Regions from separate parts of the Homo sapiens genome. Here region 2 is linked to region 1. The links are contacts of gene promoters, found by promoter capture Hi-C in blood cells and fetal thymus (Javierre and others, 2016). All regions are on one chromosome and are shown on one strand. Each heading gives the region's core, a stretch centred on a gene start or on the middle of the fragment in contact. The rest is flanking DNA. Distances are from core to core; before and after follow the strand shown. Region 1 holds the start of C15orf40 (chromosome 15 open reading frame 40). Region 2 has its middle 12 kb from the start of TLNRD1.

Region 1 (4,923 bases), core at 880-3,379:
TGAAATACAGAGCTTTAGAGGTGAAAAAGACCTTCAAAAGAATTTAGAGCAATGGTTTTTGAACTTTTTTTCCTTTAGAATCCCTTCCCCCAATTTTCTCCAGAATCCCAATATGTAAAACAAATGTAAACAGAGCTAGTCAGGAGCCCTGTCTGCCTGGCCTCCTCCTTGCCCAAAGCTGATTCCTGAGGCACCTCCAGCACTCCAGAGAATAGCCTGAAAGCCTCTAACTTAGTCCAACGATCTCATCTGACAGATGAAAAAACTGGACCCATGAATGTTTTATACTGTTTTGATTTAAAACAAATTCGCACAGGAACTGATCACGGGTCTCAGATCTCAAGTTTTCTCCCTCTCCTTAGGCCAGTGATCATTAAACTACACTAAAATGTCTCTTCTTTCTCTGGCCAATGTCTCCAGTTTTGGAACAGGACAAACTAAGAATAATCCAGACTACACACAAGTTTCCATAACTGTCCTTTCTAAAATACTGTATTTTTAAAGAGGAAAATATACAATGGTTTTCGTGTAACTTGGCATGATTTAAAGATATATTCACTTTAAGACACCTTTACATTAGAATCTAGAATTTTAAAATGGAGAAGCCTCTAACTGCAGATGTGAAAAATCAACTGTCATAGAATAAGCTTTCAGCTAACCAAAGCAAAGGAGGGCTGTAGGAGACACCTGATTCACACTTGAATCCCACCCCAGTGTCCAGGTATACCTGTTACAGCATTTTGTTTGGAGCCAGGTTTTGCATGGATGGCTATGGTGACGCATCCTTTAGGATCAACTGCCACAGGACCTAAGGGAGGAAGTGGTCTCTCTGGTTCCTTGCTCTGGCTTTTACCCTAAAATGACAACCACACAACTTTACAGGTTACAAAATATTTTCCCACACATTTAATTTGATTCTTCCACTACCCCCTTTCACCCTTAACAGACAAACTAGGCTCATCAGTGGTGTCCAGGGACTTCTGGCCACCTAGAAAGCTTTTCCCACAACCTTCAAGGCTCTACTCAATTTTCCCACGAAGGGTTCCCATCAACCCAACAGTGTTTTTTCCCCCCTTGCAAGAAAACCTAACTCTGGCTTCTAAACCTTAATGCTTGCTCCTCCCTCTGCTTTGTATTTCCAATTCCTTGGGGGCAGGGATCATTTATTATTCATCATTGTATCTCATGCAGTCGGAGCTAATAAATGTTGGTGAAAGTGTGTATGTCTGCATGTTGCGGGAAAGGGAGGAAAAAAAAATAGTGCTTGATATTTAAAGGCCTGTTATGGGACAGGGGCTGTGCTAGGAACTTTCGTTCAACAAATATGTAGGCAATGGATATGTAAAGATGAAAAGGTACATGGTCCTTGCTCTCAAGGAGCTCGGACTGCTGCGAGGGAGAAAGAACATACAAAATTATAATACACTGTGCTAAGTGCACCGATGAGATAGGCACAGAACATTACCCCACAGGCAAATCAGCATTGGGGCACTGGAGAATGCTGCCAGCAGGAGGCAGTGCTTGAGCTGAGTCTGAGAAACGGACTGGGGTTGGCCAAACAAAGATGGTGGAAATGGGAGTGCTGTATTCTTGACAGAAGGGGTGCGATCAGCCAAAGCAAGGGAGGAGAAAGCAGAATACAGCCTCCTGGGGAAACGCAGGTCATGCCGCTGCGGGAACATGAATTGCTGGACTGGGAGTGCGGGTAGGAGGCCAAAGGTCAGCACACGCAGCCCAAGGAGAGCTCGGCTGCCGCCGGGCCCAGCGCTCAGAAATCACCAGGTGGACGGCAGCGCAGCCTACTGAGGCGGGGCGACGGCAGCAGGCCGCAGCTCTGGGGGTGGCGGCGGCTGTCCTGAGCCCCGGAACTGAGAGACGGCAAGCCGCTGGCAGTGCCTCCACTCACTCCCGGGCCCCGCTTCTCCCGCGCTCTTCAACAAGTACCCCTGAGGCCCACCCCTCTGCCGCCACGGGACCTGCTACTGGCCTTGGTCGTCGCACCAGCCTTCTTAGGCATCTCGGCGCAAAGAAGCCGAGCGGAGCCCCGAGTATTGGGTGTTGCCCGAAGGTGCCTCAGCCCGCTGCGGAGCCGCAGCATCCCCGCCTGGGAAGGCGCCGGAAGAGCCCTCTGCGCTTGCGCAGGTAGCCGGCAGGAGCGGCCCCACCGCCCGGCGCATCCGCTCTGGCCAGAGGGCGACACCTTAAGGCCGGCGGGAGCGAGTCTCGTGGCCGCAGAACATGCGCGAGTCTCTTTTGTTCTGGAACGGGCCGAGCCCCAGGAAGTGGAGCTGCGGAGCTGAGGCCTCACCGTGTCTTGGCCCACCCTGCTCAGCTGATAGGAAGGTGTGTCACCTCTTTCCTAATCGGGGAAAGAAAGGTATTGTCACTTCTCAGAATTGGAGAGCGCGGCAAGGAGTGCACAGGGCCAGGTGTCTTCTCGCTCCCACAGCCAAGCAGCAGATGCAGAGTCCCACGCGCTGCCTGTGGCCATCAAGTCGATATAGAGCCTCGTGGCGGCTTGGCCCTTGTGAATCTTCCACGTATCGATGGCGCACCTACCTTGTGCCAGGCGCAGCGGATCCCACAATGTAAAAGAAGAGGAAATACACTGCGACATGTGATATGGAGAGACATGAAACAAATCAGCAGAGGCAAGATCATGGAGTCACTGAAGGCTTTCAAGCAAGGGATTATTAGCAGCCCAATTTGCTGGGTTTTAGAAAGACACCGGCTGCACTGTGGCCGACAGAGGAAAAGCCAGAGACAGGGAGATCCGCCCCCTAAATGGGAGAGGGTGGCCTGAACTAGAGTAACCGCAGGGAGGGTGGAGCGCTGATCATTTCAAGGATCTTCAGGAACTGAAATGATCAGAACTTGGGAATGACTGCATGTGCGAATAAGGGGGAAAAGTCAAGGAAATGCCCAGGTTTGGGGCCCAAGGAACAGGTTTGGGAGGCCGAGGTGAGGAGTTCAGCTTTGGACATAATGAGTTTGAGATGCCCACAGGACATCCAAATACAAATGTTAAAGGGGTAACTGAATATATGTGACTGGAGTTTGCGAAATCAAGGCTGGTGATAGAGATTCTGGAATCTTCTGAAAGCAGATGGCAATTGAAGCTATGGAAATGGATGAGAGAGTGTGTAAAGAGCACGAGGGCCCAGGTTAGAACAGCAAGGGCAGGTAGAGAAGTCACCAAAGGACACTGACCAGGTAGGAGTACGGTGTAACGGCAGCTAAAGAAGGGCGCTTCAAGAGGGAACATCAACAGTGATGAACACTCTGGAGAGAACATGTCACATGTAACGACTGAGAAGTGGCCACAAGATTTAGAAATCAGGGTGGTGGTGGTGACCCGGGCTACAGCAGTTTTAGTGGAGAGAAGGAAATGGAGATAATTGTAGAGAATAATCCAGTGACTTCACTGTGAAGGAGCAATTGGTATCTGGAGGGGCACATGACATTCAGAGACTTATTTTTATCATATTTGAAGATTGGTAGGAAAGAGCCAGGAGAAGAGAGGTTACAGCAGAGGACGGTTCCTGAAGAGGTAGGATCTGAGCTCAAGTAGAGATTGAGTTCTCTACAGGAGGCCTTAGACACTCCTTCCTTCCTAAGGGAAAGCTTAGGTGGACATGTAGCTGTGTTTGTAGGTTTGGTGATGGGAGGTGGAATTTCTTTCATTAACTAAGGCGGGGGAGGTGTTGAAGGTATATTGGGACTCTTGAGAATGGCAAAGGGCTGACTATTGCAACTCACCCAGCGGTAGACAGTTAAGGGAGACCGTGAAATCATCTATGATCCCAATCTATAGTTACCTTATTTTATTTTTGTTTATTTTTGAGACAGGGGGATGGGAAGAGCCTGTCGCCCAGGCTGGAGTGCAGTGGCGGGATCTCGGCTCACTGCAACCTCCGCCTCCTAGGTTCAAGCAATTCTCCCTGCCTCAGCCTCCAGAGTAGCTGGGACTACAGGCGCGCGCCACCACACCCATTTTTTGTATTTTTAGTAGAGACGGGCGTTTCGCCATTTCGCCCAGGCTGGTCTCGAACTCCTGAGCTCAGGCAATCCACCCACTTCGGCCTCCCAAAGTGCTAGGATTACAGGCGTGAGCTAGCGCCTGGCCTATAGTTACGTTACTTTAGATGCCTGGATTCACCAGCTAAGAAGTTTTTTTTTTAATTAAATTTTTTTTTGGCCCCAGTGCTACTACCAAAGCAGTCAGGAAGTTGAAGATAAGGCAGACAACTGGATTGATTCAGGTATATTTAAGTGGGTTGAGGGTTATTGATGAAATGGTTAAAGTTATTAAAGACCAAAGGTGGAGAGGGGTTGAGGGAGACCAAAAGTAGAGTCTAACTGGGTAAAGAAGGAAGTAAAGAAGAAAAGAACAGAGAGGACAAGGGGCTGCAGTCTTAGGTTCAATAACGGGTGTAACTGGAATGTGAGTGAGAGCTGGAAGAAACACCAAAGGTTGTGGCCAGAGAGTGGGATGTCTGAATTTCCTATTTCAGATGTAGAGCAATTCCACATCATGATAGGGTATATGGTGTGGCCATGATAAGGAATGGTGAAGGTTGCTGGAGGTAAAGAAGAAACTGGAAACCTAGGTGTAGCTGGGTTGTCCACATGGCCACTGAGGCCATGCAGTATAAAGGCTTGAGCAGAAGAAAGTGAGCCAGGTGTTAAACCAAAACCATATTTCCCTTCTTTGAAATCAGTTAAGAATTGAGGCACAAAAGCTGAACCAGCATTATATAGCAGTCATTTGTAGAATCTGCTTTGGGTGAAGTCACGTCAGCCTCAATTAGAGGTTTGGCAGTTGTCATGGAAATAAAGGGGACGTCTGTGAAGGTGAGTTACGATGGCATCTGGCTAGATGGGTGAGGAGAGCTAAGAGGTGCTCTGCTGTGAACCATTCAG
Region 2 (4,923 bases), core at 1,106-3,605, 2.0 Mb before region 1:
ATCACTTTGAATTTGATTTTTAAGGTATGTGGGCATTTTGTGTTTGAAATGCAATGCAAAGCTGTCCGTAAAACTGACACAAATAGATCACCTGATATTTTAGCTGTCTTCATGATGGAATCATACTACTCTGGAGCAATTTTTATTATACTGTTTCTTTAAACTGGTTCTGCTGTGATTATTATGTAAGTGTGGCTGTGACGAAGGAGAGCCCCATGAAGATGGCTTTATATTCCGTTTGGCTCAGCAACAATGACTCTAATAAACCGGATTGAAATGGGAGTTTTTCTACCTGGATTATACACATAACTAAAATGGATAGGTAAACTCAACTGAATAGATATGAAATCACTTTAAAGATTCATCCTTTTTCTTTTCTTTTCCTTTCTTTTCTTTTCTTTTCTTATTTTTTTTTTTTTTTTTTTTTTTGTGACAGTCTTGCTCTGTCACCCAGGCTCCCAGGCTGCAGTGCAATGGCGTGATCTCGGCTCACTGCAACCTCCGCCTCTTGGGTTCAAGCAATTCTCGTGCCTCAGCCTGCCAAGTAGCTGGGACTAATTTTTGTATTTTCAGTAGAGATGGGGTTTCACCATGTTGGGCAAGCTGGTCTCGAACTCCTGACCTCACGTAATCCGCCCACCTTGGCTTCCTAAAGTGCTAGGATTACAAGCATGAACCACAGTGCCCACTAAAGATGCATCCTTATAGGTGGCTCAAGTGTTCCAGTTCCCCTCATCCCTCTCTTTCTGGAGGGCAAGCAAAGCTTCTTGCCCACAGAAGTTTCTAGAAACACTGGCAATTCTTGACTTCACTGGGACGTTTTGCTTCATCCTGGGCAGCCACAAAACACCTTCTAGATTCACATTAATAATAAATGAATGCATTAGCCCATTGTCACATAGGGGCAAGTTGCTGGTAATGACACTTACTATGCCATTCATTAGTTGGGTCTAGAATAGTGTCAGATTTAGCAAGGCCAATGGTAAAAGTTTCTGATTTAGCAAACATTTACTAGGTGTCTGGGGCAGTATTAGGCATGTTCTCTGTATTAAAATATTACCTTACTTAAGGAGTTACTCAAAGTCACACAACTACTGTTAGAAACAATCCTAGAACTAGAAACAACCCTAGAAATCCAGTCCTTTGTCTTCCCCAATAAAATCAATTTGAGATGCCGTTTGTCAGGCTGAAGACATTTTCCAAGTGCATCATCCTTTTGTGTTACATTTATGTAACTGGAGAAAACAGAGGCCTAGGAAAGCGTAGCATTGAGTACTCATTGTTCGGGTGACTGGGGAGTAGTATGTAGGCATTGGCATGACGCACCAGAGCATCTTCTCTTTAGGTGTGATAAATGGTTTAGGTTTGACTGTATCATGGGTGTTGATTCTTTCCTGGGTATACGAGAATTATTCACTTTAAATGCTACAAGGAAAAAGTTTTAAATGTTGAAAAAAAACTAAGCCTATTTGATTTTTTTTTCGTTTTAAACATGTCCATGAAATCCTGTATGGTCTGAACTTCTATGGCTTCTTGTCAGATTTCAGAGCTGAGAGACTAGATGCTTCTACCATCTTACAAATAGCTTAAGAAGTGAATTTTGCATTATCTATTGGGAGTTCACTTAGAGTTTTTGGAAGAACTTCCTAATTGCCTAATCTAAATTGTTCCTTTTGCATTGTTTTTCCCTGTGTGTGTATGTGTGTGGCTGAGAGAAGAATGACTCACAAACTCCATACAGAGTATAGGACATTAGTTGGAGCCTCCTGGGGATATCAAGATACTGGGATCTTCACCATGGATTTTTCAACAGTGTTCAGTAGACCTTTCTTAAGCCTGACTGTACAGAGAGGATGCTGTACTTAACAATAAGTGTTGGGAATATGGATAAGAGCTTAGAATGCAGTGGAAGTGATAGCAAGATAAAACACATTACAAGGGACCAGGATAAGTGCCATAATTTATGTTCCTAAGGATCTTCTAATCTAGATCTTTGGCTGTTTGGGGCCTCATAGTCCCTAGATTTGATCATCTGGATATATTATCCTGCTGACCAGGGAGAAGGATGTTGACATCAGAACCCCACTTTCCTACTCTCAGTGCCAGGCGACCGCATATAATGTAGGTGGGAATTCCATCGAATGTATTTTCTGTGCAGCCAGAGGGCAGTTTTTAGTTAGAGGTTTCAGGTGCCTTAAAAAGTAGGCTTTATTCCAAGGCTCAGGGATCATTTTCTGTTCTGCTCTTTGATTTTTTTTTTCCCAAGACAGAGTCTTGCTCTGTCGCCCAGGCTGGAGTGCAGTGGTGCCATCTCGACTCACTGCAGCCTCCACCTCCCAGGTTCAAGCACTTCTGCCTCAGCTTCCCAAGTAGCTGGGATTACAGGAGAGTGCCACCACGCTCATCTAGTTTTTGTATTTTTAGTAGAGGTGGGGTTTCACCATGTTGGCCAGAGGCTGATCTCGAACTGGCTGGTCTCAAACTCCTGACCTTGTGATCTGCCCTCCTTGGCCTCCCAAAGTGCTGGGATTTCAGGCATGAACCACTGCGCCTGGCTGCTCTTTAATTCTGAGGTGGTGTTGATGCAGAGTGTGAGGCTATTGCTGGATGGGATCTGCACTGTAGGAAGCAGAACAGCTTTCCCCTACTTCACTGAAGCAGCTAGCCTGGCCTTGGATCAGCAGCCATGGGTGGGGCCAGTGGGCCCAGCTCACTTGCAGAAGAGTCCTGAGCCTGGCTGCCCGCCATTGTTGTGGATCACCAAGAACTGAACTGGGCTCCTGAAGATGCACCTGGCCTGGAGAGTGCACCTGTCTGGCTGATAGACTGGGAGCTTTTCAAGGCAATCTGTTGTGTCTTTTTCATCTGTCATCCCTAGAAGGTGACCAGGATGCTAAATTGTTTGTTTAATGAAAGAAAATCAATAGCTGGCATTTTTTTGAGCTCCTGATGTATACGCTAGAAACTTTACATTGTGTTTCTCAGTCCTTAAAGCAACCCCTTTGAGGTATGAAGAGTCGTTCTCATTTTACAGATGAGGATGCTGAATTGAAACCACTTGCCTAGGGTCAAAGAAACTAGTAAGTAGGGGGATAAAGGTAAGAATCAAGGTCTTGTGACAGAGACAGCATTCTTAGCCACTTGGCTATAGTGAATGAATGATTTTTAGGATAGTGTCCCTCTGCCCATTGAGGCGAAATGCTCTTCAACTCTGTTAAATTTTTAATCTTTCCAATGACAGTTCCTATGGGTTTCTTCCTAAGCCTCACTTAAGCCTTTGGTCTGAGCTCCTCTTGGACCATTTGTGGAGGGCCCTGGATGCCCACAGGCCCCTTGTAAAGACTCGGGCAGAGTTGATTCCATGGACAGATGGCTTTCCACCTGCTTCATGATCCTGGTATCCTAAGGGATGCTTGAAGAAGATAAACCTCTGGTTTGTCAAGGAACTTCCACTTGGATTTCTAAATTGCAGCTGCCTTTGCTCTTCACCTACTTGGAACACTTCCATGGTTCTCCCGTGGACTTTAGGATAAAAGGCAAACTCCTCACTGAGGCATTTCTAGCAGGTCTGGTCTCTCACAGTCTACCCATAATTATACTTTTTAGAGGTCCTTCCAGTGTCATGCTGTCTTCTTGCCTCCAAGCTGTTGCACAAGCTGTCCCTTGGAACACTCACCCCACATCCTGCTTCTCCTTAACCCGCTTCCGCAGTCCTCAGCCTGGGTGGCACCCTCTCCTGCAGGTCCCTGTAGTACCCTGCACTTTCCCTATGTTAGTATTTATCAAGTTACTGTAATTCTCTGTTTACCTATCCATGTTCCTAGTATGGATCATCATCAGGTGGTGGCATCATCTTTTTATCTCCAGTGATTAACGCAGTTACCTAACACATATGAGGCTCTCAATAAACATCTCTGCTGAACAAATGTAGTGTTTATAAGTCATATCAAGCTTTTAGAGATGAAAAGCCCCAAGAGTAAAATAGTTCATTAACCTTTTCCTTTGGCTAGATTCCCTTCAGTCAGTTACCAAATTCTTTCAAATTCTCCTTTCTCATACCCTTGGCATCTGTTTCTTCTCCCCAGCTGCACAGCCAGCATCCTAGCCTAGGCCCCTTGTTGACCCTCACCTGAACAATGCTGCTTAATGAGTCCCTAGCTGCAGTCTGGATTACCTGCCCAAATTAGGCATGCTTTCATCACCTCCTCCCATCAGCCATGTCTTTTGTGTAGTAAATCTAGGCCCTAAACTGCAACTTCACATAGTCTACTTATTGAGTACCGACAGCATGCCACTGGACTGGTCCCACAGGGAATAGGACCAGGCCCTTATCAGGCCATGGCACTCATCTCCCACCACCCCCAGCCCAACCTCTGTTCCAGCATGATGGGCAGAACTCAGGCCTTTTTCCGTGCTGTTCTTATTCCTATATCTGCTTTTGCTTTTGTTGGTCTCTTTATGTGAAATATCTTTCCCGTCCTTCTGAACACGTGGTAACCCTTTGAGCCTAGATGACTCCAAAGACTAGGACTCTCCATCTGTGCTGCAGAACGGGGCGGCCTTGGCATGTCTGGTCTTTTGTGGACTTCCCAGGGATCTGGGTGGCTTCCAAGGCCCTGGATGGCCCAAATTCTCTTCCCTTAACTGGTCTAGGTACCCCAGGGCCTCACCTAAGTTTGAGCTCTGAGCTGGAGGACTGGATGCCAACCTGGTGATGATTCTTGCCTCTCTCCTCAGGGCGGTATTAGGTCCAGCAGGGGTCACGAAACAAAATGCCACCTCAAGAAGGGAGTCTTTTCCCACAAACGAACTTAGAACCATATTCCCTGGGGAGCCCTTGAAATCAGCGTGAGAACTGACTGAGGGAGTGAGTCCTGGCTTTGAGTCCCATAATTGTTATAATACAGAAATTACTCATGACTT

The links. The method cuts DNA at HindIII sites, captures the fragments that hold promoters and counts their contacts. A CHiCAGO score of 5 or more calls a contact.
Region 2: a contact is called between a fragment that was not itself captured here and the fragment with the promoter of C15orf40 in region 1, in 1 of 17 cell types (activated CD4 T cells). The highest score is 5.3, in activated CD4 T cells.

Annotation. Positions count from the first base shown.
Region 1 is chr15:83,009,510-83,014,432 of GRCh38, forward strand. It overlaps C15orf40 (chromosome 15 open reading frame 40), which reads right to left and starts at 2,130. Exons shown (of 4, transcript NM_144597.3): 1 at 1,988-2,130; 2 at 728-854. The coding sequence starts at 2,098. It overlaps LOC124903542 (a long non-coding RNA gene), which reads left to right and starts at 2,232. Exons shown (of 2, transcript XR_007064742.1): 1 at 2,232-3,550. RefSeq lists an enhancer at 2,308-2,367. The HindIII fragment of the contact is 2,628 bases long and covers 995-3,622 here.
Region 2 is chr15:81,010,076-81,014,998 of GRCh38, forward strand. No RefSeq gene overlaps it. Among named protein-coding and RNA genes, the nearest start is that of TLNRD1, 12 kb to the left of the region's middle. The HindIII fragment of the contact is 3,188 bases long and covers 762-3,949 here.